Linked DNA regions of Homo sapiens: region 1 is linked to region 2. Evidence: promoter capture Hi-C in human tissues and cell types (Jung and others, 2019). All regions are on one chromosome and are shown on one strand. The core of a region is centred on a gene start or on the middle of the fragment in contact, and the rest is flanking DNA. Distances in the headings are between cores, read along the strand shown.

Region 1 (5,577 bases), core at 1,477-3,976, 1.1 Mb before region 2:
CCACCACCATTACAGAAAATTTTCACTGCCCTAACAATCCTCTGTTCTCTGCCTATTCATTCTTTCCTCCTTCCTAAACCCTGACAACCACTGATCATTTTACCATCTTCATATTTCTTCTTTTCCAAAATGTTATACAAGTGGAATCACATCGTATAAGTCTTTTCGGGTTGGCTTCTCTCACTTACTAATATGCATTTAAGTCTCTTCTATGTCTTTTCACGGCATGATAGCTCTTTCCAAAATGCTGAATAAAATTTCATTGTTTGGATGTTACACAGTTTGTCAACTCGCCTATTGAAGGACATCTTGGTTGCTTCCAAGTTTTGGCAATTATAAATAAGTTGCTATCAACATTCATGTGCAAGATTTTGTGTGGACATGAGATTTCAACTTCTTTGTGTAAATACAAAGGAGTGTAATTGCTGGATCATATGGTAAAAATATGTTTAGTTTCATAAGAAATTGCCAAACTGCTTTCCTAAGTAGCTGCATTATTTTGCATTCCCACCAGCAATGAATACAAATGCTGGTTAATCTACATCCTTGCCAGGATTTGTGTTGTCATGTTTTGGATTTTGGCCATTCTAATAAAGGTGTAGTTATGTCTCATTGTTGTTTCGATGTGGAACATCATTTCATATGCCTTTTTGTCACTTGCATACATTATTTGGTGAGGTGTCTATTAAAGATTTTGGCACACATTTAAGTGAGTTGTTTGCTTTTTGTTGAGTTTCAGAGTTCTTTGTATATTTTGGATAACAGTCCTTATCAGATAAGCCTTTTGCAAATATATTCTCCCTGTGTGGGTTGTCTTTTCATTCTCTTGACAGTGCCTTTGGCAGACTATAAATTTTTAATTTTAATGAAGTCCAGCTTATCAGTTCTTTCTTTCATGGATTGTGTTTTTGGTGTTAGGCATACATATTTTTTAAAAACAGCCCTAATATTTATAATCTGCAGTCAGAACTGGAAAAAAACACTTTAGAGTTTATCGGGTTTTATCTATGAGGGGGTCATGTATATGGCATTCTGCCTTTAGTCCTATTGTTTCCAGGTTTTGCAAGCCATTCTTTTTTTTTTTTTTTTTTGAAACAGAGTGTCACTCTGTCACCCAGGCTGGAGTGCAGTGGCACGATCTTGGCTCACTGCAACCTCTACCTCCTGGGTTCAAGCAATTCTCCTGCCTCTGCCTCCCAAGTAGCTGGGATTACAGGCGCCCGCCACCATGCCCAACTAATTTTTGTATTTTTAGTAGACACGGGGTTTCACCATATTGGCCAGGCTGGTCTTGATCTCCTGACCTTGTGATCTGCCAGCCTCAGTCTCCCAAAGTCCTGGGATTACAGGCGTGAGCCACCACAGCCGGCTGCAAGCCATTCTTTAATGACTTTTAGCAACCCACTGTAATGAGGTCATGTGATCAACTCCTACAACATACATTCTTCAACTTAGATGTACGAAATCTAGAACATAACTGAAAAGACACTATGGTACTAGAGCAATAACCTTAGCATGATGAAGCAAGATTACATTGGAACTCCGTATCACAGTAATTCCTCCATCCTTTTCTACCCTTTTCTACTCTTTTAGTTGGTAAATTGGTTTATATCTATTTCAGTTCTGAAATGTCACCTAAATGCATTACCATTTTGATAATCTAATGCTACTCACCTAAGAGAAGCTTCATCACACTTCCTCTGGAAAGCCTGTGTATTTTTATGGTTAGAGAATGGCCTCCAGTTTGAAGTCCCAACTCCAGAAGACTATATGTATTATCTTGGGGAAGCCGCTCTAAGTCACTGTTCACCATTACTTTATTTGCAAAATAATGCTACCTATACCTTATAGGGTTGTTGTTAATACACATCATCACTTAAAAAATGATCTGCCATTGTCCTTAGACTTCTCCTAGAGGCCTGCATCTTCTCCCAGGTTATGTCAAGGCAAAACATTTCAACATTCTCAGGATTTCTCATAACAATGTAGATTTCTCTAATCTTCCACAAGAAAAGGGAAAGCTGGAACTTGGGAGGTTATCTCTGTGCCTTATCTCTATCAGTTTTTCCAATCCTGCAAACTCTTAGGGCTAGAAGGGATTTTCCTTATGTCATGCTTGGAGTTCTCTCAACCTTTTGAGTTAAGGTTTAAGTTTGCTGTGACTGGCTGTTGAGACATTAAGAGGAACTTAAAAAAACTGACTCTGTTTTTCAACAATATCTTTCAAAATATCCCTTTGCTATAGAATCACAAATATTCTGGCATTAATTTTGAATAATAAGGCCTACTGTTAGTAAACGTCAGACACCTAACATTGACTGTTTCTTTGCATTTATTTATTTCTCAAAAATAAAAATAAAAATGAAAAAAGAAAATTGTCTCTACCATTCCAAAGAATGCAATTTTATCTTAAAGTTCTCTGAAGTAAGTAAATAAGAATAATCATATATGATTATTCTTTGACTTCTTAATAAAGGCAGCGTTGACCAATGACACAATGTTAAACATAGCTCTAAGGAAAAAGCAGTAATAAGTTCATTATAGTCCTAAAATTTCTAGAATTGGATTAGATTTATCTTGAAAAAAATTAACTGCTAAAATGTTGCCATTTTTGTAGTCTTAATGTTTACAATATTGTTTACATTAGACATAAATTACACTAATGTTTTAAACATTAAGCTTTTTATTCCACTTAGCCTGAAAAAGAGAAAAAAATTAGTGTTAGAGTCTTACTTCTGGTTCAGCTACTAATTTTGTAGTTTCCTAAGATCACCTTCTTTTTTTTTTTTTTTTTTTTTTGAGATACAGTCTTCCTCTGTCGCCAAGCTAGAGTGCAGTGGCGCAATCTTGGCTCACTGCAACCTCCGCCTCCTGAGTTCAAGTGACTCTACTGCCTCAGCCTCTTGAGTTGCTAGGACTACAGGCATGCACCACCATGCCCAGCTAATTTTTGCAATTTTTGGAAGAGATAGGGTTTCATCATGTTGGCCAGGATAGTCTCCATCTCTCGACCTCGTGATCTGCCTGCCTGGCAAAACTCCATCTCTACTAAAAATACAAAAATTAGCCAGAAGTGGTGGCAGGTGCCTGTATTCCCAGCTATTTGGGAGTCTGAGGCAGGAGAATTGCTTGAACACAGGAGATGGAGGTTGCAGTGAGCAGAGCAGCCTGGGCAACAGAGACAGACTTTGTCTCAAATAATCATCATCATAACAATAAATATATATATATATAAAATAAACTCTACTTTTAAGTTTTGAAATGCTAAGCATGTAGTAGAATGACAGTAAAATTGAAATACATATACTTAACTGAAGGCAAAGGCTATGTCTTTCTGTAGTATTTATTATTCCCCATAGCAATTAGCCATATTTTAATTATTCCAATATTAATTGTACAAATATATTCAAAATCTGTCTGGCTTTTTTGAAATCAAAATTTGAAATTAACTTAGAATAAGAAGATAATATTGTGAAAGCTATTTGTAATTTTTAGATTTTTATATTTCTGTGTCCTTACAACTGACTTTTTTTTTTGGTAATACTGTAGGTCTCTAGTAAGTTTACCTTTTTCTAATCTTTTCAGCCTCAGAGAAGGACATTTATTCATTAAGTCAACATATATTTATTAATTAATGACTACATTCAAACAGCTGTTCATTATATACCTGAGTATATAACTAAAGACACCACAAGGTCTCTGCCCTCCTAGAGCTTATATTATAGCTGAGAAAAGCAGGAAACAAACTCATCAGTATATAATATATGTATAGTTCAGATCACTCTAAAAGTCATGGTGAAAACAAAAGTGTATAAATCTAATACAGAGTTGGGGGATGGAGAGATTGATATTGTATGTAGAGTGACCAGAGAATATCTCATTGATGAGTGGCATTTAAGGAAAGACAGAAAATAAGAGAGATGGCTGTGACTTTGGGAGAAAGAAGGTTGGTTCCATGTTGCCACCACTTAGGTAACCAGCATCACCTCTGAGGCTTATCATGTCTGTTCCCCACAAAAAATCGGTAGGCAATCTTCTGACTGGCTCTGATATTGCAAACTGTCCCTACTACCACCTCTCTGTCATGAAATATCATATATAACCTAAAAGAAAATAATTTAAAATACAAAAAGACAGAAAAATTAAGGGGAAGAAGAGAATAAAGGAGAAATGAAAGAATGCAATATTGCCTAATACATGTATTCTCAGAAATAAGAGAAAAATGAAATGAAAAATACATATTTTTGTTTTTGTGTTTTGTGTTGGCGTGTGTGTGCATGTTTGCTTTGCCATATACTTCTGCTTAATCATATTAGACTCAGTATATTTCAGTTAAGTACTTTGAATCTTTACCAGTGTGAAAGAAAGAGAATGTTTTCCTAATAAAACAAAGAGAAAAGGTTGGAAAGTGCACCAAACCAAGTTTGCTCCCGTGTTGAACACTATGACTCTCCATTTATCAATATAACAACCAAAGATGGAAGTGAGTTATGTGTTCATACTTTGTAACGCTAAGGTATGGTAAGAAAGATGAAGTGACAACATTTATCCCATCTGGTGGATGAAAATATTACATAACCTTGCTTGTAAGGAAATCTCTTTTGTTTTTCTTCAAGGAGGTGAACTTTGAGACTATCCTTGGACCGCAATTTAAGCTTGAGACAAAGGAAACTGATTGTGTTATCTCTTTGTAACCCAAACACCTGTAAATCTACTTCACCAAGCTTTGACAGCATCTGAACACTTATTGATCTTAAAATGGTACAAAAACCTTTACTTGTTTGCCAGTCAACAAAGGTTAGTAAGTAGTTAATATAAATTTAATATTCTAAAGAAAATGTGCACTTCTCGTAATCTTACACTTCCTAATCTACTTCCCAGATAACCAAATCACTTTACTTTTTATTCTGGAGAGGAAGTGAGTGGGACACAGATGGTTTGACATATCATTATGCCTTTTTTGTGGGGGTAGTCTTCAGTTTCACATTTTTCTTCCGTCCTTCATTTTTATTCAATTATCTAACAAATAATTACTCTGTGCCTAACATGTACTGGCTCTGGAGCTATGATTGTGAATGAGATAAACATAGTTCATGCTCTTGCAGAGCTTACAGATTAGTGGAGAAAATTCTCAAAAGGCACTAATTATATAATGCCATAATTGCTTTAATGGGGCTAGTATAGTGCATAGTGGAAGCAGCTATGTGGAACACAACCATAGCTGACAAGGGAAAATGGGCAAGGAAAACTTCTTGGGAAAAGGACATCCAAGCTACAATTTAAAATACAGGTAGGAATTAGCTAGGAAAAGCAGCTGAAATATCATGTTCAAAGCAAGATCAAAGATAGGATAGTGGCTTCAGATAAATCCAAGTTGTTGAAAGGAGCTAGCTAAGATAGTGGGTGAAAGGTGTGACGCAAAGTCTAGGCCAAATTCTATACAAGGTTGGGAATCATTTAAAGCATTTAGGCTGAATCCTGAAAGAGGGACCACTGAAGTTTTGCAGGAAGAGAAAGAAGCAGTGAGTTTTAAATGCATTAACCAGATTGGAGGAGGGCTAAACAAAGTATTCTTGT
Region 2 (5,196 bases), core at 1,190-3,689:
AGGATCTGGGACACAGAATGCAAAGGATCCTAGTGCAAAACCTCCATATTCGAGGTAGTGAAGAATCGTAAATCAGAATATCTGGAGAATGAATTCTCTAGGTCTCTCCTGAAGACCTTAAAATACAACAATCCTTCCATATGCAAAACATCAGCTAATGTTTCTTAAGTGAGTGCATCAATCATGAATTTTTCTCATGAGTATAAGGCTTTTATTTGAATAGCTAAGCAAATTAAGAATTTTAGAACAATAGTAATTTTATTTATAATGCCTAAAATAAAGCATAACAAGCATTATTTTAAAAATAACATTTCTAATTTTTCACAGTGGAAAATAAATCTAATGAAGAAATTCAATAAATTTCAGCTTTTATAGACCACCTAAAACAATGAGAGAAATCTAATATAGATATATGAATTCTACGTAGATACAAAGACATCATGAGAAAAACTATGTTTCTGAATTGGTTTGAACACAGGAAATATTTTTTGTGTACAGGACAAAGATGTCTGAAAGACAGAAAGATGCATATAACAGCCTTTCCCCAGCATCTCTACTGTGATCCAGTAGAAAAGCTTATATTCATGACCATTCTCAACAGTTACTTTTCTCCCACGCCCCCAAGCAGTGACTCTCCAATCTAAAATAAAGATACACAAGAGGTTGGTCTCGTTCTAGTTTTCCTTTCCTGTCATCAAATGATGTCATCTACATTGAGATGTCTTGGTTTGTGTCCTTGTGACTGAAGATATAAGAAAGCTTGGGAGGCCGAGGCGGGCGGATCACGAGGTCAGGACATCAAGACCATCCTGACTAACACGGTGAAACCCCGTCTCTACTAAAAATACAAAAAATTAACCAGGCGTAGTGGCGGGCGCCTGTAGTCCCAGCTACTCGGGAGGCTGAGGCAGGAGAATGGCGTGAACCCGGGAGGCGGAGCTTGCCGTGAGCCGAGATTGCGCCACTGCAGTCTAGCCTGGGCGAGAGAGGGCGACCCCGTCGCAAAAAAAAAAAAAAAAAAGATGCAAGAAACAAGAAAGCAAGTTTGCCACTGTCCATGCTTACAGGATTCATGTACACCTGGGAATATACATATGACATGAGTTGAGTGAAAATTTAGTAACACAAATTAGAAGAAAGAGAAAGATGAAAATTAGTTTAAAGGAGGTAATTTACTTAAGGAGGAAAGTTTTGCATTGAGGCATAAGGAAGTGACTTCCATTAATTGGTGTGAAATGGGGAGAATTTTATGTGCACAGGCATAGAGACGGACATGTTTAGGTGAAGGTGAAGAAAATTAGTTCAAGTGACCTTGATTAGAATTGAAATGTCCACCGTAGATTATAGAGATAGATGAACTAACTATGAACTGATGATTAGGGTGTAAAGAGATATCTCCATTGCCAGATATAGCCTTATACTGTGGACAAGCATATTTTTCCTGCAGAGATTTATCAAAGACCTATAAATGGTATTTGCCCCTCTTTCAAATATGACACAAAAATTACTGCTTAGATAGATCCAGAAATACATTGGAAAGTTTTGTGGATGAGGATCTGGAAAGTATACACATAAAAGTCTAAATTAGAAATATTTATACTAATCTTTAGAGTAATGCAGAAAAAATGACCACTTTCTCTGGTACTCTTTTGCTATTCTATGTGATAAACTCTTTCTCTTCCAGTTTCCTAAAAAGTTATGTCATGAAAAGGCTGAATTTTTCTCTAGAAAAATCTGCTCTGTCTTTCCCAGGCAGCATAAAAATTGGAAATCTCACAAGAAAGCACTCTGGCTTGCTAAAGAAATTTGTGAGAAATGGAAACAGCTATAGATAAGTATCTAACTTTTAGGAAGCCATTCAAACATTGCTGAAATACTTTGTCTTTTGATATTTGCCTGAAACTTAACTTCTAGGACCCAGGGTGGGTGGATGAGTCGAAGGGGCATACGGTGGCATTTCTTTCCGTGAGTCTCTTACAGTCTCCTATTTAAATTGAGTTAGGATTACTTCTGGCAAAATCCCAACATAAAAATCTTCTAGGAAGATCAGTTCTGTAAATTAGACATACTAGATAAATGGGCATCAAGCAGTTTTTCAAAATTATGCAGTTGTTAACTTCATAAGGGGAAATAAAAATGTATGCATTTACATTGTATGTATTAAAACAAGGCAGAGCATTTCTATACGTTCCTAAGTTATACAAACATATATGTAAGAGTGAAATATGTAAAAAAACTTTTACATAAGCAGATGCATACAAACTCCAGATGTGCTCTTTTTCTTACTGTGGGTTGTGTCTTCTATAAGGGAAAAAGAAATATTTATCATTTCTTTTACTGCTGAGGGGATGGGTGCGGCTCTCATATTTCAGAAAGGGGCTGGAAAGTGAGGGAAGCCAAACTTTTTCCTATTTAAGGCCAAAGCAAAGGAATCTCAGTGGCTGAGTTTTATGACGGGCCCGGTGCTGAAGGGCAGGGAACAACTTGATGGTGCTACTTTGAACTGCTTTTCTTTTCTCCTTTTTGCACAAAGAGTCTCATGTCTGATATTTAGACATGATGAGCTTTGTGCAAAAGGGGAGCTGGCTACTTCTCGCTCTGCTTCATCCCACTATTATTTTGGCACAACAGGAAGGTGAGTAGGTACTGATTTCAAGAAACTTTATGGGATTTTTGTCTTTCTTCTCCTCACAAAGAGGGGTGTAAAGGGGAAAATCAGTTGCCTGATTCAAGATAATTTCCTCTATAAGCTCCAGATTGTGAAACGTTGAACTGACCATGGCTGTGCTTTTTACATTACTTGAAAAATAATCGCGTTATGTGTGTTTTTAAGAGTTCTGTGGTTAAGATAAGATGTTCTTGTACTAACTTGTTTTCATGTTAAAGGCACTGGAAACTTTTAAAAATGGCTTTAAAATTTTTCCCTCCTGGATTGTTAACATCTTGGAATACTTCCCCAGGCAGTCTGGAAGTTATTGGTCTCTTGCAATAATTTTATGTTCCTCTTTGTCTGCTGGATTCTTTGTAAGGTTAGAATATTGAGCATTGTTTTCTGAATAAGAATGCCTTTCAAATATCATGGATTAAGAACAGTCTAAAGGAAGATTCTACGCATTATCAGAATCATTGAATATATTTCTGTAAAATGGCTACAAGATACCTATAAACATTCTTCAAAGGGATCAAACTGCTAAAATATTTTATTATTCCTGTTTTTATTTTGTTTCAAGAATGATTGATTAATTCATCTTTTCTAGTAGCTTGATATTAAGGGACTAATATTTTCCACATATTCTACGTTTTAACCACATTCGCATTAATGAAGAAAATATTTTTTAAAATGTTTCAACAGGAGGTTTGACTTTGCTGCAAACAAGGTAAAGATACTAGTACTGTTTGACTTCAGAAAGCTGTTTTGCTATATTTTCTAATAATTGCATGTAATGTTTTTCATATTCTAATTTCCCCTAAAAACACATTTGTCTCATTATTTATGTGAAAATATTCTTTTATTTACCATAGTCATGAAAATGCTGAACAAATTGGAATACAAACTTCCATAGAAATAAATATTTAAGTGCTAAATGTAAAGATAGCTAGGAGAAATTATTAGACAATTTTTATTGCACATAACTAAACATGGTTACATTTAAACATATAGATTTTGCAAAGGACACTGCATGAAAATTTGGTTTTTGTTTGTAATATCAAATGTATTTGTTGTCCTCATAGCTAATACATGTAAATGTGTGTATGAGGGGAGGGGTAGATATACAATGAAATGTCTTCAGTTATATTCAGCCCATGGACACAAAAGAAAAGAAACACCCATTTTCCTTGTTCCCTTAATTTCCTCTCCTCCTTACCCCTCCTCTCCTTCGCTTTGCCCTCCTCCTTATCTCTCTCCACCCCTTTTGGCTCCTTTAGACTTCTCTTCACTCATCACCCCACCCCTTCCTAGGCAAGCCCATATCTACTCCTCTCTCCTCCTCTGTCTTCCCTGCCTGTTACTCCCTCCCTACTCCCCATGTGGCCTCCTTATGCCTCCATTTCTTTTTTTTAGTTCTCTCTCTCCTTGCCTCCTCACCCTTTCTTTCCCCTGAACTCTCAATCCTTCTTCCTTTCTCATTCCTCTCCCCTTTTCCTCCCTATCCTGCTCTTCCCAGGAGATGCTACAACTCACAGTCCTTTTTTAGGATACCAAATGACTACTATCCCCCACCAACCATTTATTGAAAAGACTACAAACTTAGGGGTTTTAGCTCAAAAAATTGCAACATATTTGTAGTTGCCTCGTGGTTGCAAGCTTTTTATAAGCACTGTGGCTATTTTTCTTCCCAATCCAACTTTAGTGGGGGGGTGTTTGCCACTTACAGTACCTTGACATCACATTAAGTTCTGTTTATTTCCCTCTTTCTCTTTAGATGCAAAAAATAATCAATAAGTATAAAATTTTGCTGATATGTGTTTGTGTGTTCTTAAGCTCAAAAAGAGTTGAAAGAGAACTGTTCAGCCTATTTTTTTTGTCATGAGTAAAAGTAAAGTTGAAGTGACTTAAGACAGTACATCTTATGTTCCCTGTGGGTTTTACAAGGAAATTCTGCTATTAGATAAGCTTTGGAAAAGTTACAGGAGGTATCTGAATATACAGCACACTGAGAGCTGTCATAAAGTTCTGGGGTGGGGTTTCTTATATATGCCCTCATAACTTCAGAGACGGCACAGCTCTAATGAACACTCACTTCTAGTTCACTCACAGGCATTTTCTGGATACAAACAAGTCCTCAAAAAGAATTTTGGTCGTCTTACAAATTTGTGAACATTGTATTTAATTCATGTGTTTTAATCCACCAATGGAGAAACATAGTCTGTTTTATATTTCCTGTAGATTATAAACATGCCAAGTTTTAAGTACAAAGATGCGTCACCTAGTGGCTGACAAGCCAGGTTACCATTTACATAACGAATGCCAATATTAATGTTATGTAGCTGGCTTTGGTAGTTTATAATGAGCTTTAAAAAATTCATATGCGTGAATTTTAAATGTTAACACTGCTCTCCTAAGGAAATTAGTATGTTACGGATAAATATTGCAAACACATATACTGACACGAAAACACAATGGTAACAATATTCAGAGTCTTTTTGGAAATTAGCTTAAATGTTACGGCCACTTAAAAATTCTACATATGACTA

What was found. Contacts are between HindIII fragments. The study calls those that stand out against the background at their distance.
Region 1: a contact is called between a fragment that was not itself captured here and the fragment with the promoter of COL3A1 in region 2, in 2 of the 25 tissues and cell types used here (heart left ventricle and stomach).

Annotation. Positions count from the first base shown.
Region 1 is chr2:187,852,957-187,858,533 of GRCh38, forward strand. No RefSeq gene overlaps it. Among named protein-coding and RNA genes, the nearest start is that of TFPI, 300 kb to the left of the region's middle. The HindIII fragment of the contact is 3,926 bases long and covers 764-4,689 here.
Region 2 is chr2:188,971,934-188,977,129 of GRCh38, forward strand. It overlaps COL3A1 (collagen type III alpha 1 chain), which reads left to right and starts at 2,440. Exons shown (of 51, transcript NM_000090.4): 1 at 2,440-2,635. The coding sequence starts at 2,557. All of the region lies in intron 1 of LOC105373791 (a long non-coding RNA gene), which reads right to left. The HindIII fragment of the contact is 6,513 bases long and covers 1-4,460 here.